Regions from separate parts of the Homo sapiens genome. Here region 2 is linked to region 1. The links are contacts of gene promoters, found by promoter capture Hi-C in human tissues and cell types (Jung and others, 2019). All regions are on one chromosome and are shown on one strand. Each heading gives the region's core, a stretch centred on a gene start or on the middle of the fragment in contact. The rest is flanking DNA. Distances are from core to core; before and after follow the strand shown. Region 1 holds the start of CRYGB (crystallin gamma B). Region 2 overlaps UNC80 (unc-80 subunit of NALCN channel complex).

Region 1 (5,071 bases), core at 1,846-4,345:
TTCTTCTTTCTTCTATTTTTCATCTTCTTTCTTCTCTTTTATTTTTCAAAAGTGACCAGCTCCCAGTACCAGGTAAGGAGGCCTCATGTTGGGGCTCCCTGAAGACTATTCCCACATACATGATTAGTTCCTTTCAAGGATATCTTCTCCCAATCCCTAGACTTATAAAAGACCCTGAATCTTCTGCGAGATGCCCAACTGTAGGGGAGAAAATTCCTACTGAGGCTCCAAAGAAAACAGGAATTTCACCACTAGGGGAAGACAAATGTCAAAGTGAGCCCTTCAAGAAGAGTCACAACTGATGCTGAAATATGTTTAATCCTTCAATTTCTTCTATTAGAATCAATGAGATTTTGATTTTGTGTTCCTAATACTTAGTTTATCTTTCTTTCATAGGATTACTGATTCTTCTACGTATCAGAACCAGAGACTGGTTGAATTTGTATGACTTAAAGGAAGTTACTCTAGGGTCCTCAATCACTTAAACATCATCCTGCAGATAAAAATCTGGGTAATTTTAAATCAGATCAATGCTCACTACATGATAGTTCATCATGATCCTCAAACACCCACCTATGCATCACACTGAGTATGTTAGGTCTTACATCAAACAGGGTTGTTAATTTAGTCTCTTTAAGAGTTAGAACTTTCAGCACATAAAGACTGTTTACATTGTTTTAGTGAGTCCACTGGGTGAATGATATTCTCCTGAATACTGCCTAGACCTCAAGCATGGGTATAGCTAACCAATAGAGAGTCTAGAACGATTTTTCATTCAGTTTCTCTTCACAAAAAAAATATATATATATGTATTAAAAGGCTAAATGTGATCACCTTAATCAGTATTACTAATCACTTTATTTGAAAGGTGACTTAGAAGAAAACAAGAGAATGCTACACAGTATAAATAACACTGTACAACCACACATGGGTTTGACATATAAAAAAGCTGGGATGATGAAACACCAAAATGTTAACTGCAGTTATCTCAGCTTTATTTTCTTCTTGTAGTGGACGCTCTGGTGCTGCCTGGACTTCCACTGTGGACTGAAGCACTCCTTCTCCCAGATGCTGACAGCTTAAAGCTGAGTTTGTCTCCAAGAATTTTCTTCTGCTGGAGGAAGCTGCCTTGCCCAAAGTTACACTTCTCCATGGCAGCAGCCCACATCAAATTACGGGGCAATGCAGAGGCACAGATTCCCGGTCCACTTGCCTAAGTTCCTGACAACTCTAGCCCTAGCCTTCCCTGCGGGATGGGATGAAGTCACCATTATTGCAATAGCTCTCTCTCAGCTCACACTTACAACTGCCTGCAGGGGTCCCTTCTGACCAGCTGATAGAGTGGGGGAAGGCTGAGCTTGATACACTAATAAATTGGCATGGCATTTGGGTACAAGCCCAAAATAGAATGCTGCTGCAGAATAGCTCACTCAGGAGTCACCCTAAAGACAGCAGTGAGGGAAATCCTCCCAAAAGGCAACCTTGAGGTAGTGCACCTGGCTGCTCACTCGGTGCAGAAAGAAAAGTAGCCCAAGGTCAAGCATATATGGAATTATTGAGCAGTAATGTGTGGCTTGGCTGGCTGGTCCAGGGCCTGGAAGGAGAAAGATTGGAAGATTAGGGACAAGAAGGTCTGGGGTAGAGGAATGTGCAGGGAGATATGGGATTGGGCACAAAGGGCGAAGATAGTTGTATCCCATGTGAAGGCCCAGTGTAGGGCATCCACCATTGAAGAGGCACTAAACAACCAAGTAGAAAAAATGATTTGGTCATTTGATTCCAGTCAGCGTCTGCCATCAGCCACCCTACTGCTGGCAGTGAGCTCACTAAGAGAGCGTTCATAGTGGTATGGATGAAGGCTATGCATTAACTTCTACTTATTAAGGCTAATCCAGCTATTTCCACTGTAGAATGTCCAATCTGCCAGCAATAGGGACCAACTCTGAGCCCTTTTGGTCCCATGCCTTGAGAAGACCAATCAGCCACTTAGTGGTAACATTTGAGGCAGAGCAGGAACACCAAACAGCAGGCAGGACTCTGGACAGCCACCAGCAGAAGGAGGGATTTAGGCCCTTAGGAAGATCTGAAAGGGGGAAGAAAGCCACAACTATCTGTTTTTGCTCAGGTCAGAGCCAATTATTGAGGACCTGCAATGTGCCAACCCTCTGCTCTAGGGCTCAGGGATAGACATGAACAAGAAATAATACCCAGCCCCCAGAAGCCTACAAAATTCCAGGCAAGTATCAGTTTTATTCAAGACAAGCCCCCAAACACCAACAATGATGATCACAGAATTTTTTTTTTTTTTTTTTTGCGACAGGGTCTTGCTCTGTTGCCCAGGCTGGAGTGCAGTGGTGCAATCATGGCTCACTGCAACCTCGACCTCCTGAGCTTAAGCAATCCTCTCACCTCAGCCTCCCAAATAGCTGGGACTACAGGTATGCGCCACCATGCAGGGCTAATTTTTGTATTTGTTGTAGAGATGGGGTCTCACCATGTTACCTAGGCTGGTCTCTAACTCCTGAGCTCAAGCAATCCACCTGCCTCAGCCTCCCAAAGTCCTGGGATTATAGGTGTGCACCACCTCGCCTGGCTGATCACAGAATTTTGAATTTGAACTAAGCTTTATGGGTTTTAACACACTTTCACAGATTACTTCACTTGATTCCCTCTTCTTTAAGATTCCTTACTATTTAAATTCTGGCTTTTAGAACTAAAACACACACACACACACACACAAAAACACCACCAGTCCCTGAGCAGAATTCATTACTTAGTTTAATGACTTTTGAGAAGTCAATTAAGCAGAGTAAACTATAAAATAAAAGCACAGAGACAGAATTTCGCCCATCCTTTTGCTCAACTAAAAGTGTACTCTATTCATTTTGATGGCAACAACAGCTTTAGTGAATTAGAACAACCCGAACCTACCAGAAAGAATGAGAGTAAACCATTCAGCCAACCCCAGTGACCTGGGCACGGAGAGCAGCGAGCTTGCAAATCCCCTTACTCACCAAAATGGGCCCTTTTGTGTGATTTCCTGTGGAGGCAGCAGTCAGGGCTGCTATACATACAGTGACGTTCCCGCAGTCCCACACAGCAACCAGAAAACATCTGCTCACTTCCTTCAAAATGGGAAAGGTAAGTCCTGGGTACCGGATGCTCAGCCTTGGCCCTAATGCAGTGGCCTCAGTGGGGGCCAATCACTCCATGCTCCCACATCTTCCATTTTTCAGATCACCTTCTACGAGGACAGGGCCTTCCAGGGCCGCAGCTACGAATGCACCACTGACTGCCCCAACCTACAACCCTATTTCAGCCGCTGCAACTCCATCAGGGTGGAGAGCGGCTGCTGGATGATCTATGAGCGCCCCAACTACCAGGGCCACCAGTACTTCCTGCGGCGTGGGGAGTACCCTGACTACCAGCAATGGATGGGCCTCAGCGACTCCATCCGCTCCTGCTGCCTCATCCCCCCGGTGAGTGTGGCTCTGTCTTTGCCTTCCATCTTTTTGGAAATAAAAGCTATTTCATGATATTCTTTTTTTTTTTTTTTTTTTTTTTGAGGCGGAGTCTCGCTCTGTCCCCCAGGGTGGAGTGCAGTGGCATGATCTCGGCTCACTGCAACTTCCGCCTCCCGGGTTCAAGCAATTCCCCTGCCTCAGCCTCCTGAGTAGTTGGGATTACAGGCATGCACCACCATGCCCAGCCAATTTTTGTATTCATAGTAGAGACGAGGTTGCACCATGTTGCCCAGGCTGATCTCGAACTCCTGGCCTCAAGTGATCCGCCCGCCTCGGCCTCCCAAAGTGCTGGGATTACAGGTGTGAACCACGGCATCCGGCCTATTTAATCACATTATTCTTAAATCCCAGCTACTCGGGCGGCTGGGGCAGGAGAATTGCTTGCTTGAAGCCGGGAGATGGAGGTTGCAGTGAGCCGAGATCGTGCCACTGCACTCCAGCCTGGTGACAGAGTGAGACTCCATCTCAAAACGACAATAACAACAACAACAACAACAACAACAAACTTTTGCTTGCTTTGTCTTACTTTTCTATTTGATTATTCCTCCTGAGAAGATAGGATCCTGTCTTCTGATTTCTATTCTAATTTAATGGTCAGTACCTATTAGCTCACTTAGAGGTATAAATTAGAGAAAAGGCCAAATCTGAAACTAAAGTTTGAGATTCCATATTTTCTGGGCAGTGACTGCAGAATTCTTAGAATTGTGGTGTGTGGGAGGCATGGGATACAGTGTCATAAAAACAGAAGTTAATGAAGGTGATACTTGCTGCTGAGGGAAATAAATAAGTTGAGAGCAGGAGGCTAGAAAGGAAGCTTAAAAGTCAGATAGGTTGAAATTTGAACTGAAGGCTGGGTGCGGTGGCTCACGCCTGTAATCCCAGCACTTTGGGAGGCCGAGGTCAGGAGGTCAGGAGTTCAAGACCACCCTGGCCAATATGGTGAAACCCCCTCTCTACTAAAAATACAAAAATTAGCTGGGCTTGGTGGCACGCGCCTGTAGTCTCAGCTACTTGGGAGGCTGAGGCAGGAGAATCGCTTGAACCCGGGAAGGGTAGGTTGCAATGAGCTGAGATCATGCCACTGCACTCCAGTCTGGGTGACAGAGCAAGATTCCGTCTCAAAAAAAAAAAAAAAAGAAAAGAAATTTGAACTGAAAATTAGCCAGATGTGGTGGTGCATGCCTGTAGTTCCAGCTACTCAGGAGGCTGAGGTGGGAGGGTCACTTGAGCCCAGAAGGTTGAGGGGGCTGTGACCCATGATCATGCCATTGCACTCCAGCCTAGGTGACAGAGGGAGACCCTGTCTCAAGAAACAAATACATATATGTGTGTGTGTGTGTGCGTGCGCATATAATAGTGAACCCCAAATATCTGAGACAGGTCTCAGTCAATTTAGAAAGTTTATTTTGCCAAGGCTGGGCACAGTGGCTCATGCCTGTAATCCCAGCACTTTTGGGAGGCCAAAGCAGGCAGATCACCTGAGGTCCGGAGTTTGAGACCAGCCTGACCAACATGGAGAAACCTCTACTAAAAATACAAAATTAGCT
Region 2 (5,071 bases), core at 1,895-4,394, 1.8 Mb before region 1:
TGTGCCATTGCACTCCAGCCTGGGCAACAAGAACGAAAACTCCGTTAAAAAAAAAAAAAAAGCCAAAGGTAGAAAATAATAAAGATAAAAAAGGAAAGAAAAGGCAGACAATAAAACTACAATAGCAAAAATCAACAAAGCCCCAAATACTGGTTATTCGTAAAGGGAAAACTATTGATAAACTCCTGAAAAGAATAATAAAAAAAGGGAGGGAGCAAAAATTCCCAGTATTAGAAATAAAAAAGTGAACTCAATAAAAACCTCATAGTCATTAAAATTTTTTTTTTAAAAAAAGCATATCAGGAACAAATTTCTGTCAATAAATTTAGGTACTTAAATTAAATAGAAAAATTCCTAGAAAAATGTGACTTACCAAAGCCACCACCAGGATAAAGAATCTTAATTTTAAAATGTTCCCACAAGAAACCACATTACTTACAGTTTTGTGTATAAATTCTACTCAATATTTTGGGAAGACAAAATGCTCATCTGAGGCAGGCACAGTTCCTCTGCCTGTAATCCCAGCACTTTGGGAGGCTGAGGTGGGAGGAACACTTGAGCTCAGGAGTTTGAGACCAGCCTGGGCAACACAGTGAGACTTTCTTTATCTCTCAAAAAATCAAAAAACTTAGCAGGGTGTGAAGGCACCCGCCTGTAGTGCCGGCTACTTGGAAGGCTGAGGTGGGAGGATTGCTCGAGTCTGGGAGATCAAGGCTGCAGTGGGCCATGATTGTGACACTGCACTCCAACCTTGGCAACAGAACAAGACCCTGTTTCAAAAATAAAAAAAAGCTAATCCATACCAAATTTCTACAGAGAATAGGAGTTTTTAAAAAGGGGTGGGGGGCTGGGCGCAGTGGCTCATGCCTGTAATCCCAGCACTTTGGAAGGCCAAGGCGGGTGGATCGCCTGAGGTCAGGAGTTTAAGACCAGCCTGGTCAACATGGTGAAACCCCATGTCTACTAAAAATACAAAAATTAGCTGGGTGTGGTGGCGGGTGCCTGTAATCCCAGCTACTCGGGAGGCAGAGGCAGGAGAATTGCTTGAACCCAGGAGGCAGAGGTTGCAGTGAGCCAAGATTATGCCATTGCACTCCAGCCTGGGCAACAAGAGCAAGACTCTGTCTCAAAAATAAAAGAAAATTAAAAAGCGGGGGGTGGGTAGGAGAGACACTTTCCATTTCATCTTATGAGTCCAGCTTAATCTTCATATCCTTGATACTATAGCCTGACAAGGACTTTATAATAATGGAGGGTTACAAATACACCTGCTAAAACGTTTACCAGTGGGTAGTTAATAAAGTAGTAGCTAAGCAAGACATCCTTTTTGTTTAAGCACTTGTAACTTTTTTAAGTATCCAGAATTGGTTTATCTTGAATGACATAGAGCTACCTAGAATATCTCTTCTACTCCTAACTTCCCTGTGATCCTAGCAATAAAATTCATTAGATAAGACCTTTTTAAAGAATAAAAATTACAGACATAGCTCTCATTAACATAGTTGTAAAAATGCTAAAATAATTGCAAACCAAATCTAGCAATACTGAAAAATGATAATTATACAACCCAGTTACAGTTTATTTTTAAGGAGACAGGAAAGTTTTAATTTTGAAAATAAATCAGTGTAACCTATCACACTTAGAAAATAAAGAATAAAAATCATATAATCATCTCTATAAATAGAGAGGAACATTTGGTAATATTCATTATCCATCAATAAGAAAACTCAAACTAAACTAAGAATAGAAGGCAGACTCCTTAATAATTAATTTCTTAATGAGTAATAAAATTACTTCCTTAATCTTTACAGGTATATTACAACAAAATCCTTTAGCAAATACTATTCTTAGTGATGAAATATTGGAAATCCCCTCCATACCCCGGGATCAGAAATGAAACAAAGATCCCACCATCATCACCATCATCACTTCTATTCCATTTTGTATTAAGGTTCTAGCCAGTGCATTAAGGACAGAGAAAGGAATAATGTGTACAAGAATTTGAAAGGATAAAATACAACTCTCATGATTTGCAGATGACATAATTAATTAAATAGAAAACACTAAGAAATCACACATATAAAATAAAAAATACTGATAACTTCATTTAAAAATGGGCAGAAGACTTCAGTAGGCACTTTGCAAAAGGAGATGTCCAAATTTTGATAAACATTTATCTGAAAAGCTTCCAAACCTTTTAATTTGAAAGAGGAAAATGGAAATTAAAATGATAATGGATGTCACTACAACCCAACAAAATAGCTAAAATAAAAAGACCGAAGATAACAAGTGTTGATGAGGCCATAGGGTACTAGAACATTTACATACTGTTGGTGGGAATGAAAATTGAAACCACCTTGGAAAACTTTTTGGTAGTATCTACTAAAGCAAGAAATACTCATAGTCCATGACTTAGCCCAGCAGTTCCATCCATAGAAATGCATAAATATTTGTGTACAAAGACATATACAAAAACATTCATTGCAGCTTTATTTATAATACCTTCAAACTAGATACAACACAAATGCCTGATAACAAGAGAAGAAATAAATAAATTGTAACATAGTCATACAATTATTATGACTATTATAAGTGAATGAAAAAGAATCAACTACTGTTACACACATTTATATGAATGAATCTCATGAAATAATACTGAATGACAGAAGTCAGACATTAAAAAGTAGCTACTATACTATTTCAGTTAAACAGATTTCAGAAATAGGCAAAACTGATTTATCATATTAGAAATCAGGATAGTAGTGCCTCTATCTGATTTTTCAATCTGAGTGGTAGTTATGTAGATGTGATAACATTATGAACATTCATGGAACTGTAAAATTATGATTTTTTTAGTGTTTTATGTGAATGTTACACTTAAATAAAATACTTTTAAAAAAAATTAAGTACAACAGAGACTTGCTGTTACAAATGTTGAAGTCCTATAGGTATGTTACTTATTCCCATGAGAGATATCCCAGGGAACCACTACTTAAGAAACCCTGACCTTACTGAGACATCAAGATGTCATCTGGTTTAAACTGACAGAATGGAAAATTAGGAGGATTAAAAAAAATTCTAATTTAACTTAACAATATTAGACTTTGGCTTTTAACTCACAATGACAAGGGAATTTGATTGTGAACTCTAACACCTTTTGATTTCAATGTGTTTGAATTTTGACTTGAAAGAGAATTTTATGACTCAATGGAAATTTGGTAAAATTTGAAATGGGAGAACTTTTTAGTCAAACTTAGGTGTTCTCTATGTTGCAGGAATATTGGAGAATCTGTATGCATTTTATTATTGCAGTGTCTCAATTGCAGAATATCTGACATATCTGGTTAACAACGTAGCTGAACACACTTGGAATGGCAAATAGAGTAGAGAGAAGATGTTTACAATCACGTATAGAATGGATTTGGAGTTAACTTAATGCAGGATTTGATCCATTCTGGAACTTTTTGTAGATCAGTGGTATTATAGGAACAGCAAGAAAATGGGAGTAGGAAATCCCCTCCATACCCTGAGATCAGAAATGAGACCATCCTGCAGCTTTGTTCTCCTGAAGGCCACAGCCACATCCGTGCCTGACCACAGGCATACTGTTTTTCTCCCCATTGCTCCAGAAGACAAAAATTCGAGAATATTGGGGAAAACACTTCTTACTCATTCCTCATGTGTCCCTCCAGTAAAAAGAGTTCAATTAATATAAATCCCGCTCCTCCTGGCCCTTATTCATTCTCTTATGGGAGAGAGAAACAGGCTTAAGGTGCAGGGCAAATATATAAAGATATATTGGGCATAATCAGCTTGGCTCCTTCCTTCTTCCTGGAAGAGCTTGTCAACAGAGTACAACTTTTAATAGATCAGATTTAAATCTCAGACCAGAGCCAACATCTTTGAATTGGGATGACTCATTCTTCATGTGAGTCTTTGAATTCTCTGTACTTGGCAAAATGAAGGCAAGATTGATATTCTTGCCCTTTGTGTTACAGAAATTCTTATTGCCCCTTGAAAGGAGTTTTCTTAAATAAATATCTGTTATGAAATTTTGTTTGCTACTAATTCACATTACTTGTGAGGAAAAATATTTTCTAACAAGACTAAATACCTTAGCATCTGCACAAAATTCAAATTAAGGGATTTCAAATGAATGAAGATTTACTATTGTTTTCCAGAACCTATGCTATGTTTCCTAAACTTTGTTTCTTCTTTCCTTTTCTTTTTTCTTTCTTTCTTTTTTTTTTTTTCTGACAAAGTCTTACTCTGTTGCCTAGGCCAGAGTGCAATGGGACAATCACAGCTCACTGCAGCCTTGACCGCCTGGGATTAAGCAATCCTCCTGCCTCAAGCCTCCCAAAAAGTTGGGACTACAGGTGTGCAACACCACACCTGGCTAATTTTTAATTTTTTAAAATTTTTGTAGAGACAGGGTCTCACTATGTTGCCCAGGTTGGTCTCAAACTCCTGGGCTAAAGGAATCCTCTTGCCTCAGCCTTCCAAAGTGCTGGGATTATAGGTGTGAGCCACCACACCTGGCCTAAATTTAGTTTCTAAAAGCTTACTTGTCAGAATGTTAGTCTGATATTAATCAGCATAACCTTTGTATTCATTCAATTTTATTTTCTCTGCCATATTTACTTATCACAAGGCACAGAATAAAGGGCTGCAGATACCTTCTGAATGATTCGGGAGCATACGCCACCACAGTGACACAGAGCTTAATGGCTTCACTGATAGAAAATGTCAGATCTTCGTTTCCATAGCAGAAATCTGAAGGAACAAAAAGTAAAGGCAAACTATCAGAGTGGATTTTGCAGGAGATAAAGAAGCACCTATTACTCCTAATGTTATCATTCCAGTATATACTGTAGCCTTTTCTTGTTAAATTTTATTCCTACGCTGTGAAAACTATTAATTTCTTCATCTCAAGGGAACGAAATTCTGTTTTCTAGTTTTGAACAATCAGATGTAAAATAAAAATACTTTTCTGGAGTGTTTAAAAAAATCTCAGATAATAGAAGACACTGAAGGGCATTTAAATTGCCTAAGGTTGAGGCTTTACCCT

What was found. The method cuts DNA at HindIII sites, captures the fragments that hold promoters and counts their contacts. A contact is called where the count stands out against the background at its distance.
Region 2: a contact is called between a fragment that was not itself captured here and the fragment with the promoter of CRYGB in region 1, in 1 of the 25 tissues and cell types used here (dorsolateral prefrontal cortex).

What each region holds. Positions count from the first base shown.
Region 1 is chr2:208,144,182-208,149,252 of GRCh38, reverse strand. CRYGB (crystallin gamma B) reads left to right here and starts at 3,095. Exons shown (of 3, transcript NM_005210.4): 1 at 3,095-3,141; 2 at 3,237-3,479. The coding sequence starts at 3,133. The region is part of intron 2 of LOC100507443 (a long non-coding RNA gene); the gene reads right to left. RefSeq lists an enhancer at 3,280-3,903. The HindIII fragment of the contact is 6,166 bases long and covers 215-5,071 here.
Region 2 is chr2:209,945,552-209,950,622 of GRCh38, reverse strand. UNC80 (unc-80 subunit of NALCN channel complex) reads right to left here. Exons shown (of 65, transcript NM_001371986.1): 47 at 4,680-4,776. Among named protein-coding and RNA genes, the nearest start is that of RPE, 55 kb to the left of the region's middle. The HindIII fragment of the contact is 5,215 bases long and covers 537-5,071 here.